Linked DNA regions of Homo sapiens: region 2 is linked to region 1. The links are contacts of gene promoters, found by promoter capture Hi-C in blood cells and fetal thymus (Javierre and others, 2016). All regions are on one chromosome and are shown on one strand. The core of a region is centred on a gene start or on the middle of the fragment in contact, and the rest is flanking DNA. Distances in the headings are between cores, read along the strand shown.

The links. The method cuts DNA at HindIII sites, captures the fragments that hold promoters and counts their contacts. A CHiCAGO score of 5 or more calls a contact.
Region 2: a contact is called between a fragment that was not itself captured here and the fragment with the promoter of POU5F1B in region 1, in 1 of 17 cell types (M2 macrophages). The highest score is 5.9, in M2 macrophages.

What each region holds. Positions count from the first base shown.
Region 1 is chr8:127,413,773-127,420,027 of GRCh38, forward strand. POU5F1B (POU class 5 homeobox 1B) reads left to right here and starts at 2,095. Exons shown (of 1, transcript NM_001159542.3): 1 at 2,095-3,174. The coding sequence starts at 2,095. The coding sequence ends at 3,174. The region is part of intron 5 of CASC8 (cancer susceptibility 8); the gene reads right to left. The HindIII fragment of the contact is 3,513 bases long and covers 1-2,202 here.
Region 2 is chr8:127,715,062-127,721,886 of GRCh38, forward strand. CASC11 (cancer susceptibility 11) reads right to left here. Exons shown (of 4, transcript NR_117102.1): 2 at 886-1,107. Among named protein-coding and RNA genes, the nearest start is that of CASC11, 15 kb to the right of the region's middle. The HindIII fragment of the contact is 1,703 bases long and covers 1,911-3,613 here.

The DNA of each region.
Region 1 (6,255 bases), core at 845-3,344:
AATATGGACTTGACTTCATTTTGTGAGAAATAAATAATCTAAGTAACTGGTCAAACACATTTTGTGCTTCTTAAAAAAAGGTGGTACACACACACACACACACACACAACACCCGATATAATACAATATTTTCAAATGACACTAGAAATATTTTAGTCAGGTCTAAAGGAACAGAAGTTAATGATAAAATGATAAACAATAAATAATAGCTACTGTTTCATGAGAAAATTACACACATCTTACTTGACTTAAACCTCACAACAGAATTGAGCAGAAAGTTATTACCCTGAGAAAGGGGACTTAAGGTTGGCAGGATAACAAGTGGGAGAATCTAGAGGTAAAGTCATATCTATCTTATTGGAAACACTCAAGAACGTCAAATAAGCATGAGAATTTGAGCAAGACTGAAGGAGAACGTTTAAGTTCCCTTTCCAACTCATATCCCAATTCTGGAATCTAATTTCTGTAACAAGTAACTATATTCCTTACTACAGAAGTAAAGATGGCCCCATGGAGAAACTGGCAGCATGGCATGATGGAAATGGAATAGAATCAGGAATTGTTTTGTACCTGTGTGTGTGTGACTTTGGTGTTCTGACTCAGACACATATTTGAGAGGTAGAGAGGGGAGAAGAGGGTTGCCACATTATGTAACAGAAAGGAGCCCACTGCTTAAACACTTACCTTGTGCCAGACATTGCACTAGGACTTTATTACCTGCAACCCATCCTGCAAAACTGTGAAGATTTGATATGATCATTCTCATTTTATGGTTGAGAAACAAGGGTTAAGGACATTAAAAATTTACTCAATGTTTAAACATTTGCCTGTCTTATTCTAAAGCCCCTTCTCTTTTCACAATCCCTTTAAGAAATGGACATCCAATATTTGAGTGGCAGAGGCAAAAACATGGCCTACCAGAACCATTATGATAGCTTTACAATATGCCCACCAATTATTTGATAGTCCTCCTGCCAAATGGTGAAGGCTAATTACCCTCCTACAGAATGTGACTCACTTCTAATGAATAAAATATGGCACAAGTAAAAGTGTGCGATTTCAGAGACTAGGTCATAAAGAACGCAGTGGCTTCTTCCCTGCTCTCTCTTTCTTAGGTCATTCTCTCTGGGTGAATCCAGCTGACATGTTGTGAGGACACTCAAGCAGCTTTATGGAAAAGCCCACATGGTGAGCAACTGAGGCCTCCTACCAACAGCCAACAAGAAACCGGGGCCTTTGCCAACAGCCAAGTAAGTGAGACATTTTGGAAAGTGGATCCTCCAGCCCCCGTTAGGCTCCCAGATGACAACATCCCCTGCTCTCATCTTGACCACAACCTCATGAAATACCCTTATCCAGGATACCCAGTTAAGCCACACCACAATTGCTATTTTACAAAACTGTGAGCTATGTGTTAGTTGTTTTTAAGCTATTAAGTTTTGAGGTGATCTATTACACAATGATAAACAACTAATACACCCATCCAGTGCTGAAGAAAGGGGTTGTCAGGAGGGTAGAATTTGCACTATTAAATCTTCATAGAGTGCTATTTCCCGTCACTACAGCACACTTGTCACCAACTATAAAGAATTAGGTCAGGGAATTTCTTTGGTTGCAGCCCATTTTGCCTTTGGTTGTTAATGGTAGAACCGTTTCCCCACAATCTGCAGGAAATAAGAATCAGAAAGAAGGACACACCATTCCATAGCACAGAACACAAGTAGATGGCTCCCATGAAGAATCTAGCATCATGGTATGGCAGAAGCAGAATGGACTCAGGAATCATGGTGCCTACACTGGAATTTCAGATCGGCCACTGACACAATGGACACATTATTCAACATTTCCAAATCTTGGCATTCTTATCCACAAAGTGAAGATAATAATTGTCAATTCACAGGTGATTATGATTTAAAGAGATTACTTTTGAAGAGTTCCTAACACATTCAGTCAACATTTAATGATGCTTCAGGCACTGTGTTCATTGCTAGTGAGCGTATGACACACACAGCCATACGGTCACAGAGCTTTCAATGAAAAGTAACATAATTGCTCATTTCACCAGGCCCCCGGCTTGGGGCGCCTTCCTTCCCCATGGCGGGACACCTGGCTTCGGATTTCGCCTTCTCGCCCCCTCCAGGCGGTGGGGGTGATGGGCCATGGGGGGCGGAGCCGGGCTGGGTTGATCCTCTGACCTGGCTAAGCTTCCAAGGCCCTCCTGGAGGGCCAGGAATCGGGCCGGGGGTTGGGCCAGGCTCTGAGGTGTGGGGGATTCCCCCTTGCCCCCCGCCGTATGAGTTATGTGGGGGGATGGCGTACTGTGGGCCTCAGGTTGGAGTGGGGCTAGTGCCCCAAGGCGGCTTGGAGACCTCTCAGCCTGAGAGCGAAGCAGGAGTCGGGGTGGAGAGCAACTCCAATGGGGCCTCCCCGGAACCCTGCACCGTCCCCCCTGGTGCCGTGAAGCTGGAGAAGGAGAAGCTAGAGCAAAACCCGGAGAAGTCCCAGGACATCAAAGCTCTGCAGAAAGAACTCGAGCAATTTGCCAAGCTCCTGAAGCAGAAGAGGATCACCCTGGGATATACACAGGCCGATGTGGGGCTCATCCTGGGGGTTCTATTTGGGAAGGTGTTCAGCCAAAAGACCATCTGCCGCTTTGAGGCTCTGCAGCTTAGCTTCAAGAACATGTGTAAGCTGCGGCCCTTGCTGCAGAAGTGGGTGGAGGAAGCTGACAACAATGAAAATCTTCAGGAGATATGCAAAGCAGAAACCCTCATGCAGGCCCGAAAGAGAAAGCGAACCAGTATCGAGAACCGAGTGAGAGGCAACCTGGAGAATTTGTTCCTGCAGTGCCCGAAACCCACACTGCAGATCAGCCACATCGCCCAGCAGCTTGGGCTCGAGAAGGATGTGGTCCGAGTGTGGTTCTGTAACCGGCGCCAGAAGGGCAAGCGATCAAGCAGCGACTATGCACAACGAGAGGATTTTGAGGCTGCTGGGTCTCCTTTCTCAGGGGGACCAGTGTCCTTTCCTCCGGCCCCAGGGCCCCATTTTGGTACCCCAGGCTATGGGAGCCCTCACTTCACTGCACTGTACTCCTCAGTCCCTTTCCCTGAGGGGGAAGTCTTTCCCCCAGTCTCCGTCATCACTCTGGGCTCTCCCATGCATTCAAACTGAGGTGCCTGCCCTTCTAGGAATGGGGAACAGGGGAGGGGAGGAGCTAGGGAAAGAGAACCTGGAGTTTGTGGCAGGGCTTTTGGGATTAAGTTCTTCATTCACTAAGGAAGGAATTGGGAACACTAAGGGTGGGGGCAGGGGAGTTTGGGGCAACTGGTTGGAGGGAAGGTGAAGTTCAATGATGCTCTTGATTTTAATCCCACATCATGTATCACTTTTTTCTTAAATAAAGAAGCCTGGGACACAGTAAAAAAAAAAAAAAAAGAAAGAAAAGAAAAGTAACATAATTGAGTAATAATTTTTTAAGTGTGGTAAAATGTGTGGCACGTAGTAGGTATTCAATAAATACTTGCTTTTTTCCTCCTTTTTACCTTTTCCTAGAGTGCTACTTGATGGTAGCTGTAGTTTTTCTTCAAGACATCCTATTTGTCCTGATACAAAACCTCTTTTGACCGCTAACGGCATAGTTCGGCCCTCACCATTCCCTCACATATTCCACAAAAATGTGAGCATTAACCATTCCCCATGATACAGATAATTCATTTTTTAATTTAATTTTTTAAAATTTTATTTATTTACTTATTTATTTTGAGACCAGGTTATGAGACTGGCTAATTTTTGTATTTTTGGTGGAGATGGGGTTTTGCCATATTGTCTAGGCTGGTCTCAAACTCCTGAGCTCAAGGGATCCTCCTGCCTGGGCCTCCCAAAGTACTGGGATTACAGGCATGAGCCATTGCACCTGGCCCGGATAATTTTTTTTCTTTTTTTGAGGTAGTGCCTTCCTTTATAGCTCAGGCTGGAGTGCAGTGGTGTGATCTCGGCTCACTGCAACCTCTGCCTCCCAGGTTCAAGTAATTCTCCTGCCTCAACCTCCTGAGTAGCTGGGATTACAGGCGCCCACTACCACGCCCGGCTAATTTTTGTATTTTTAGTAGAGATGGGGTTTCACCATGTTGGCCAGGCTGGTCTCGAACTCTTGACCTCAGGTGATCTGCCTGCCTTGGCCTCCCAAAGTATTGGGATTGTAGGCGTGAACCACCACGCCCGGCCCTGAAAATTCATTTTTAAAAGAACATCATATCTACCTTAAATGCATTAAGATTTCACATTAGACTCATTATTCATAGTGAACATTAGGAACTTAAGTCCACTCAGTAATAATGCACCTATTCATGACTCTTGATTCAAAGATGTGCACCTATTTACCCTGGACCAGCTCCTTGGAAGGACATGAAATAGAGGGTAATAATCACATCTTTCCAAATTTGCTATGAAACTGCATCGCCAAAAACTGAGACTCATTTTCCGATTGATGAATCAAATGACAACAAAATCTCCAGGGCATTCTGAAACCCAACAGGGATTAATGATTAGGCATACCAGTGGTAGTTAGGAGACTTGCCCAAATTTCCAGTTTTCTGCAGATGGCATCTAAGTTAGAAGACTGTCATAAATTTATTCATGGCTTGGCTTTCTGCTATTTGCTCATTGGTGACACTTTTATATACAATGGTGTTTCTATGGCTAGGAAATCCCAGTGGAGATCAAGAAACCTGGGTTCTACAAACTAATGGGGTGACCTTTGATTAGTCCTAACTCCCTTCCTAAGCCTCAGTTTCTTTAGACATGAAATGAAAGCAATGGATTACATTGCCTTAGACTTTTTCCTAGATCGAAAATGTGATAATTGTGCCTTTCCAACAATAATTGATACCACTAGTGAACATTCTTTCTTAAGCACATCTATTAAGGACTTCATTTATATTATTTTTCTAATCTTTAAGCAAACTCTGAGATAAGTGACTATGATGTTTATTCCATAGGTGCAAAAGATTTGTCAAGTAACTCTCCAAAGTAAAAGAGAGGGCTGGAGTTTAGACTCATGACTGTTCTGCTCTAACCCAAGTGATTCTGGATCCCAGACTCCCCAAATGACAAGTTATTCCAGAAATACTCAGAAAAAGGAGGGTGCCGTATGTCGCACATGGAAAAATAGAAAAAGTAACAGAATCCAGCCAAAGGATTCCCAGAAATTGAGGCTCTTCTGTTCTTGGCATTTGCATCTTTGGATGTGTGTTTTTTACATTGCTCTATGCAAAAGGTATGTTTCAATGTGATTTTTTTTTTCTCCTCCCATCCTACCACTGAGGAATCACAGGGAATAGACTCGACACCTGTGAACTCAATTTACCCTAGAAAAATGTTTCAGTCACACTTAAAATAAAAAGGGCATCAATTAGAATAAGAAGGACACTTTGTTGCCTAGGAGGACTGAACTTTTTTGGACCTGGGGCACCTTATCAGCTTCATTTTTAGCTCTAGTATAATCAAAAGGTCAGGATCTCCACTGGACCTTAGAAATTTTTTATTTTTCGATAAGATTTTCTGAATGCCTGCCATGTGTGAAGGGAAATGCCTGGACTTCTATGCATATGTATTTCATTGTCTCCCCACATCTACCCAGGAAGACAGGCACAGTGAGCCTTGCATGTTGTAGATAAGGAAGCTAAGTCTCAAAGACAGAGAAGGAATTTCTCAAGGTCACACTGTAAGTAAAAGGCAAAGGAGGGATTAGAACCCTGGATCCTCTTTATTACACCAAGCCTGCCTCACAAGGATGCCAATCTCTCATCACTTACTGGGAAAGACCCACTCCTCCCATTCATGATAAGGTAATGCTATCCAATAAAAACCCCAAAGCAGGCATAAAATATGAAGTAGCGAAACTCAGGCAGGCAGAAAGCAGAGTGGTTTAGACATGGCTGCTGTCTGCAGCAGGGAGAAGTTCCTGGCAACATGACCCTGAAAATAACAATGAGTGACTGAAGCTAAGAAGGAAGAATCTTCCAAGGACTCTGAAACTAGATATTTTCTCAAGCCCCACCTATGGACAAACACAAATCATGGAGAAATAAAGATGCCAGTCTCCAGGAAGCACCAGAGTTAAATTCATTCTGGAATTTAACTCCTGGCATTAACAGTTAGCTGGGAGATTAAAACAAACCAACACACAAACACAAAAAAATAATCAGTGGAAAAAAGTTAAAAAAAATCAATGGACAGTGGTTTCATAGCAGA
Region 2 (6,825 bases), core at 1,512-4,011, 300 kb after region 1:
AATCCAATATTTTTTAAAAGCATTACTTAATAGGATCAGGCATGGTGGCTCACGCCTGTAATTCCAGCACTTTGAGAAGCCAAGGGAGGAGGATCCCTTGGGCCCAGGAGTTTGAGGCCAGCCTGGGCCATATGGTGAGACCCCATCTCTTAACAGAAAAAAATAGCCAGGTGTGGTAGCACAAGTCTGTAATCCCAGATACTAGGGAGGCTGAGATAGATGGGAGGATCACTTGAGTCTGGGAGGTCGAGGCTGCAGTGAGCTGTGATCAGCCACTGCCTTCCAATATAGTGAGATGGAGTCTCATTCTGACCCCCCAGACTGGAGTGCAGTGGCACAATCTCAGCTCACTGCATCCTCGACCTCCCCAGACTCAGGCGATCCTCCCAAACCTCAGCCTCCTGATTAGCTGGGACTACAGGCGTGTGCCATCATGCCTGGCTAATTTTTGTATTTTTCTGTAGAGACAGGGTTTTGCCATGTTGGCCAAGCTGGTCTCGAACTCCTGGACTCGGAATATGCCTGCCTCGGCCTCCCAAAGTGCTGGGATTAAAAGCGTGAGCTACCGCGCCTGGCCATTTTTTTTTAATCACAGGAAAAGTGATTCAAAGTGTCACTTCAGAGACACAAAATTTTGCTTGAGCTCTGATGTAATATTTAGATGATTTATTCACAGAAGGTGATCTGCTAATTCAGGGACCTTGTTTTATGGCCCAAATTCTTTCCAGTTCATTCAACTCTGCTTTCTCAGAGACAGGGTAAATGTAGCTTTCTGACAGAGGTCCTCATTTTGACTTTAAGTAACAAAGAAGTGTTAGTGTTTTGGTTGTTTCCTTTTGTTCATCTTAGACAGCTAAATGGCACATAGGCCGCCTTGGCTCATACCTGTAATCCCAGCATTTTGGCAGGCTGAGGCGGGCAGATTGCTTGAGTCCAGGAGTTCGAGATTAGCCGGGGCAATATAGTGAGACCCTGTCTCTTCACATCCCTGTGGTCTCAGCTACTCAGAAGGCTGAGGTAGGAGGATTGCTTGAGCCTGGCAAGTTCAAGACTGCAGTGAGTCGTGATCACACCACTGCACTCCAACCTGGGTGAGAGTGAGAGATCCTGTCTCAAAAGAAATAAAAATGAAAGACACATAATTCACAATCCATGTCAAGAAGACCTTGCTTACTCTGTTTTCTCAGTGGACTTTGTGGCCATTCTCTTTCTCCTGAGCTATCTGTATCATAGGTAAGTTATACAGTCCTATCCCTCCAAACTTACCTTTAAACACATTTCATGATAAGAGGGTTTTGCACCTAAAACCTTTACCCTCAGAAGTTTATCTTATCCATTAGTGGGTCATCCAAGACATTTCCACCAACCCAATAACGCACAAGTAAAGCTAAGTGAACATTTGTTGAAAAAAAATTACTAAATATTAAGTTTACATTGATTGAACACATAATATGCGCCAAGTACTATAAGCGCATTATATGCATTATCTTAATTATTCCTCCCAAGAATTCCATGAGGTATTTATTATCCCCATTTTAAAGATAAGAAGATGAAGGCTGAGAGAGTTTGAGTAGTACAGATTTATGGAGTAGGGACAACAGCATTGGAACTTGATGTCCTCTCTTCTCTAACCACGACACTGCCTAGTTCAGAAATTACCAATCTGAGGAAGAACAAGTGAATGGACAGTTAACAGGAATGTCCTATTGATTTCTTCAGGCTCTTGCTCTCAAATGGATAAATGAGGGTCTCCTGACCTTCCCTGCCATCCATCTCTTCCGCTTACTTCAACTGCTTGATTTAATTGATATCTTTCAGGAAGCCAAGGTTGGCTAATATCAACTTCAATAAAAATTTAGCTTTAGAGATGAACCAAAATGAACCACATTTTCCCAGTGATAACCCACTTAAGCTTGGCTCATGCTCTCCAGTTTCAAAATCTCCATCCTGTCCTCTTCACACTGCCTGAATTTGAATCCCTGTTCCACCATTTACTTTTTTTTTTTTCTTTTTGAGATAGTCTCACTCTGATGCCCAGGCTGGCGTACAGTGGCATGATCTTGGTTCATTGCAACCTCCGCCTCCTGGGCTCAAGCAGTTCTCGTGCCTCAGCCTCCTGAGTACCTGGAACTAAAGGCATGCACCACCACACCCAGCTAATTTTTGTGTTTTTAGTAGAGACTGGCTTTTGACACATTACCCAGGCTGGTCTTGAACTCCTGGCCTCAAGTGATCTGCCCACCTTGGTACCATTTATTCTTGAATCCCAGGCAAGCTAACATTCCCACACTGCAGTTACCTCTTTTGTAAAATGTAAATAAAATGGGCACTGATCTGATTGGGTTGCTGTGGGGACTAAATGATGAATACATGTAAGTGCTTATTGGAGAGTCAAAGGCTGAAAATCTCTCCATCCTTTCAGTATGTCTCTGGGACTGCATTAATGATCTCGCCTGGAGAGGCAGAGGTTGCAGTGAGCCGAGATCGTGCCACTGCACTCCACCCTGGGCAACAAGAGTGAAACTTCATCTTAAAATAATAATAACAATAATCTCACCCAGAGATAATGGCCAATATCTCAAGGCCCTTGATGAGTGAGAGAGTGGACCAAATCACCCTTCTGTTTTCCCCTGTCCATCCCCACCCCAGGTTTCATGTTGAGATTTTACAGAGAAAAAAACATAGTCCACTTGTAAAGTAAACCAAATAAAGGCTGGGAGTGTTGGCTCATGCCTATAATCCCAGCACTTTGGGAGGTCGAGATGGGTGGATCGCTTGAGTCCAGGAGTTCAAGACCAGCCTTGCCAACATGGTGAAACCTCATCTCTACAAAAAACTGCAAAAATTAGCCAGGTGTGGTGGTGTGCACCTGTAGTTCCAGCTACTCAGGAGGCTGAAGTGGGAGGATCACCTGAGCCCAGGAGGTTGAGGCTGCGTTGAGCCGCGATCATGCCACTGCACTTCAGCCAGGTGACAGAGGTGAGGGAGGTCTTGTCTCAAGAAAAAAAATAAAATAAAATAAATCCAATAAAATGTCTGAAAACTCCTAACCTCTCAGTGTTCTCCAAGTCTCCTTTCATTGCAACTGTCAGCATCTTCAGTTCTGTGTCTTCTGCACCAGGAGCCATCTCCACAGCGCTTCCCATCCACCCACAGCACTTTTTATTACACTGCCAGGTGTAGCCATCATCTACAGGGGAGCAGCCCTCTATTCTGATAAGGCATAAAAAATGAGCTGCAGACTGAGAGTCCAGCCATGTGTCCTTCTGCCTTATCTGCAAATCCCATCATCAGCAATTTTCTCGAGCCTGTTCAGGTCACTTCATTCTCTTATCCTCACCTACAAATGCTCCTATTCAGTCTTTCTTGGGCTCCTTTAGGAAAATGCACTAATAATGTACTATCTATTTTTTTTAATTGGAGTATCAGTTAAGATGTGTTTCTGTCATTTGTGCAATTATTAGATGTGCTTCCACTGTAAATCAAAGAAATGCAGACTACAGCAAAGCTGTTTTTAAAATGATAATAAACAGTACTGACATGAGTCTCATTAGTGTAGCACTCTCATATATTCCTGAGGCAGTGCAAATTACAACATCTCCTTTTTTCCTCAAGCTTTAGTAATATGAATCAAGGACTTTACAAATGCCTCTGATTCAATAATTCTGGATTCTATACTAAGAAAAGTATCCTAAAAATTAAGAACAGATTTATTCCCAAAGATGTTCATATCAGTGTTATTTACCATAGCAAATCAATGACACACTTCAAATTTTAAAAAGGAAATGATTAAATGAGGTATTTTATAATCACCTAATAGACTATTTTGCAGCCATTTAACATTTGCTTTCAATGATGCTGACAATTTTTGTAACACAATGTGAAATGGGAAAAAAGGCAGATTCAAAGGAACATTTATAGCATGATTACAAATTTATAAAACAAAAACTTTCATTTAAAAGAAAGATAAGAAAATATAAGGGCACAAAAATAAATGAATGTTATTATGGTAAATCAACAGGGCTGTGAGAAAGAATAAGGGTCCTAATTTAGACAGGAAGGTCAGGAAAGCCTCTCTGAAAATGTAGAAGATAAACAAAAATTAGTCAAGGAAAAAATTAAACAAGGAAATAGCCAGGAAAGGCCAGGTGTGGTGGTTCATGCCTGTAATCCCAGCACTCAGATGGGCAGATCACCTGAGGCCAGGAGTTTGAGACCAGCCTGGCCAACATGGTGAAACCCCATCTCTACTAAAAATACAAAAATAGCTGGGTGTGGTGGTGCATGCCTGTAGTCCCAGCTACTCAGGAGGCTGAGGCAGGAGAATCGCTTGAACCTTGGGAGGTGGAGGTTGCAGTGAGCCAAAATTGTGTCACTGCACTCCAGCCTGGGTGACAAATTGAGACTCCATCTCAAATAATAATAATAATAATATTAAAGCAGAAACAGCCAGAACAAAAATTTAAATGGAAAATTTAAATTAAATTTTTAAATTAACCAAGGAAATAATTAATCAAGGAAAAAAATAGCATGTACAAAGTTTCTGAGTCAGGAAAAACAGGATAAATAGGAATTACTGAGGCACTGACTATTAAGTGCTAACTATACATTGACAGTTGAGTCGGAACTAAAATGTCCTTGCATTGAATAGTATTCATTTTATTTGTTGACAAGAAAGCTTGCAACTAAAAGTCTGAGCCTGGCATGTGATAGGAAAAGGTAGTAACAATAGTACTTATCCCCAAGGCTGTCATGGAGTAAAGCATTGCTAGACCTAAGCACTTACAACAGGCCTGGCAAATGACCAATAAGCACATGGAAAGTTGCTCCATGTTGGCAGGACATGGTGGCTCATGCCTGTAATCCCATCACTTTGGGAGGCTGAGGCAGGGCAGATTGCTTGAGCCCAGGAGTTCAAACCAGCTTGGGCAAGATGGTGAAACACTCTCTATGCAAAAATACAATAATTAGCCATGCATGGTGGCATATGGCTGTAGTCCCAGCTGTCCCAGCTACTCATGAGGCTGGAATAGGAGTATCAATTGAGCTCTCAAGTTCAAGGCTGCAGTGAGCCGTGACTGTGCCACTGCACTCCAACCTGGGTGAACAGAAAAGACTCTGCTTCAAAAGAAACAAAAAAACAAAAAAGAAAGGCAAGTCAAAAAGCACAGTGAGATACCACTTCACGCCCACTGACATGACTATAATGAAAAATAGAGAAAGAAAGATAACAACAAGTATTGACAAGGATGTGGAGAAATTGAAACTTCATATACTGCTGGCATGAATATAAAATGGTGCTGGATGGGCACGGTGGCTCACGCCTCTAATCCCAGCACTTTGGGAGGCCAAGGATCACCTGAGGTCAGGAGTTCAAGACCAGCCTGGCCATGGTGAAACCCTGTCTCTACTAAAAATACAAAAAATAAGCTAGGCGTGGCTGGGCGTGGTGGCTCACACCTGTAATCCCAGCACTTTGGGAGGCCGAGGTGGGTGGATCATGAGATCAGGAGTTCAAGACCAGCCTGGCAAAGATGGTGAAACCCTGTCTCTATTAAAAAATACAAAAATTAGCCTGGTGCGGTAGTGGGCACTTGTAATCCCAGCTACTTAGGAGGCTGAGGCAGGAGAATCGCTTGAACTTGGGAGGCAGAGGTTGCAGTGAGCCGAGATCATGCCACTGCATTCTAGCCTGGGCAACAGAACAAGACTCCTTCTCAAAAAAAAAAAAAAAAATTAGCTAGGTGTGGTGGCAGGCACCTGTAATCCCAGCTACTCGGGAGGCTGAGGCAGGAAAATCACCTGAACCCAGGAGGCAGAGGTTGCAGTGAGCCGAAATTGTGCCATTGCACTCCAGCCTGGGCAACAAGAGGAAAATTCCATCTCAAAAAAAATAAAAATAAAAATAAATAAATAAATAAAATGGTGCAACCACTTTGAAAAACAGTTCAACATTTCCTCATATGGTGAGAATAGAATTACTATATGAAGGCTGGGTGTGGTGGTTCATGCCTGTAATCCCAGCAGTTTGGGAGGCCTAGGTGGGTGGATTGCTTGAGCTCAGGATTCCAAGACCAGCCTGGGCAACATGGTGAAACCCTGCCTCTACCAAAAATACCAAAAATACCAAAAATCAGCTGGACGTGGTGGCATGCACCTGTGGTCCCAGCTACACGGGAGGCTGAGGTGGGAGGACTGCTTGAGCCCAGGAGGCAAAGGTTGCAGTGAGCGGAGATTGTGCCACTGCACTCCAGCCTGGGCAACAGAGGGAGACCCCATCTCAAAAAAAAAAAAAAAGCAAAACTATATGATCCAGCATTTCCATCCATCAATAGATAGATAGACCCAAGATAAAAGAACACATATATTCACACAAACATTTGTACAGAAATGGTCATAGCAGTATTATTCGCAATCCCCAAAAAGTAGAAACAACCCAAATGCCCATCAATGGATGAGTGGATAAATAAAATGTGATATATCCATACAATGAAATATTATTTATCAATAAAAGGAAGTGAAGTACTGATAATACTATACCACGGATGAACTTTGAAGTGATTATGCCACATTAAAGCAGCCAGGACAAATGACCACACATTGTATGATTCCATTAATATGAAATGGCTAAAATAAGCAAACTCATAAAGACAGAAAGTAAGTTGATGTTTGCCAAGGGCTGAATATGTTGTGGGAAATGGGGAGTAACTGCTAATAAGTACAGGGTTTCTTTGGAGGGTGATGAAAACGTTGTAAAATTGATTGTGGCCAGGCACTACAGCTCACACCTACAATCCCAGCTACTCTGGAGGCTGAGGTGCGAGG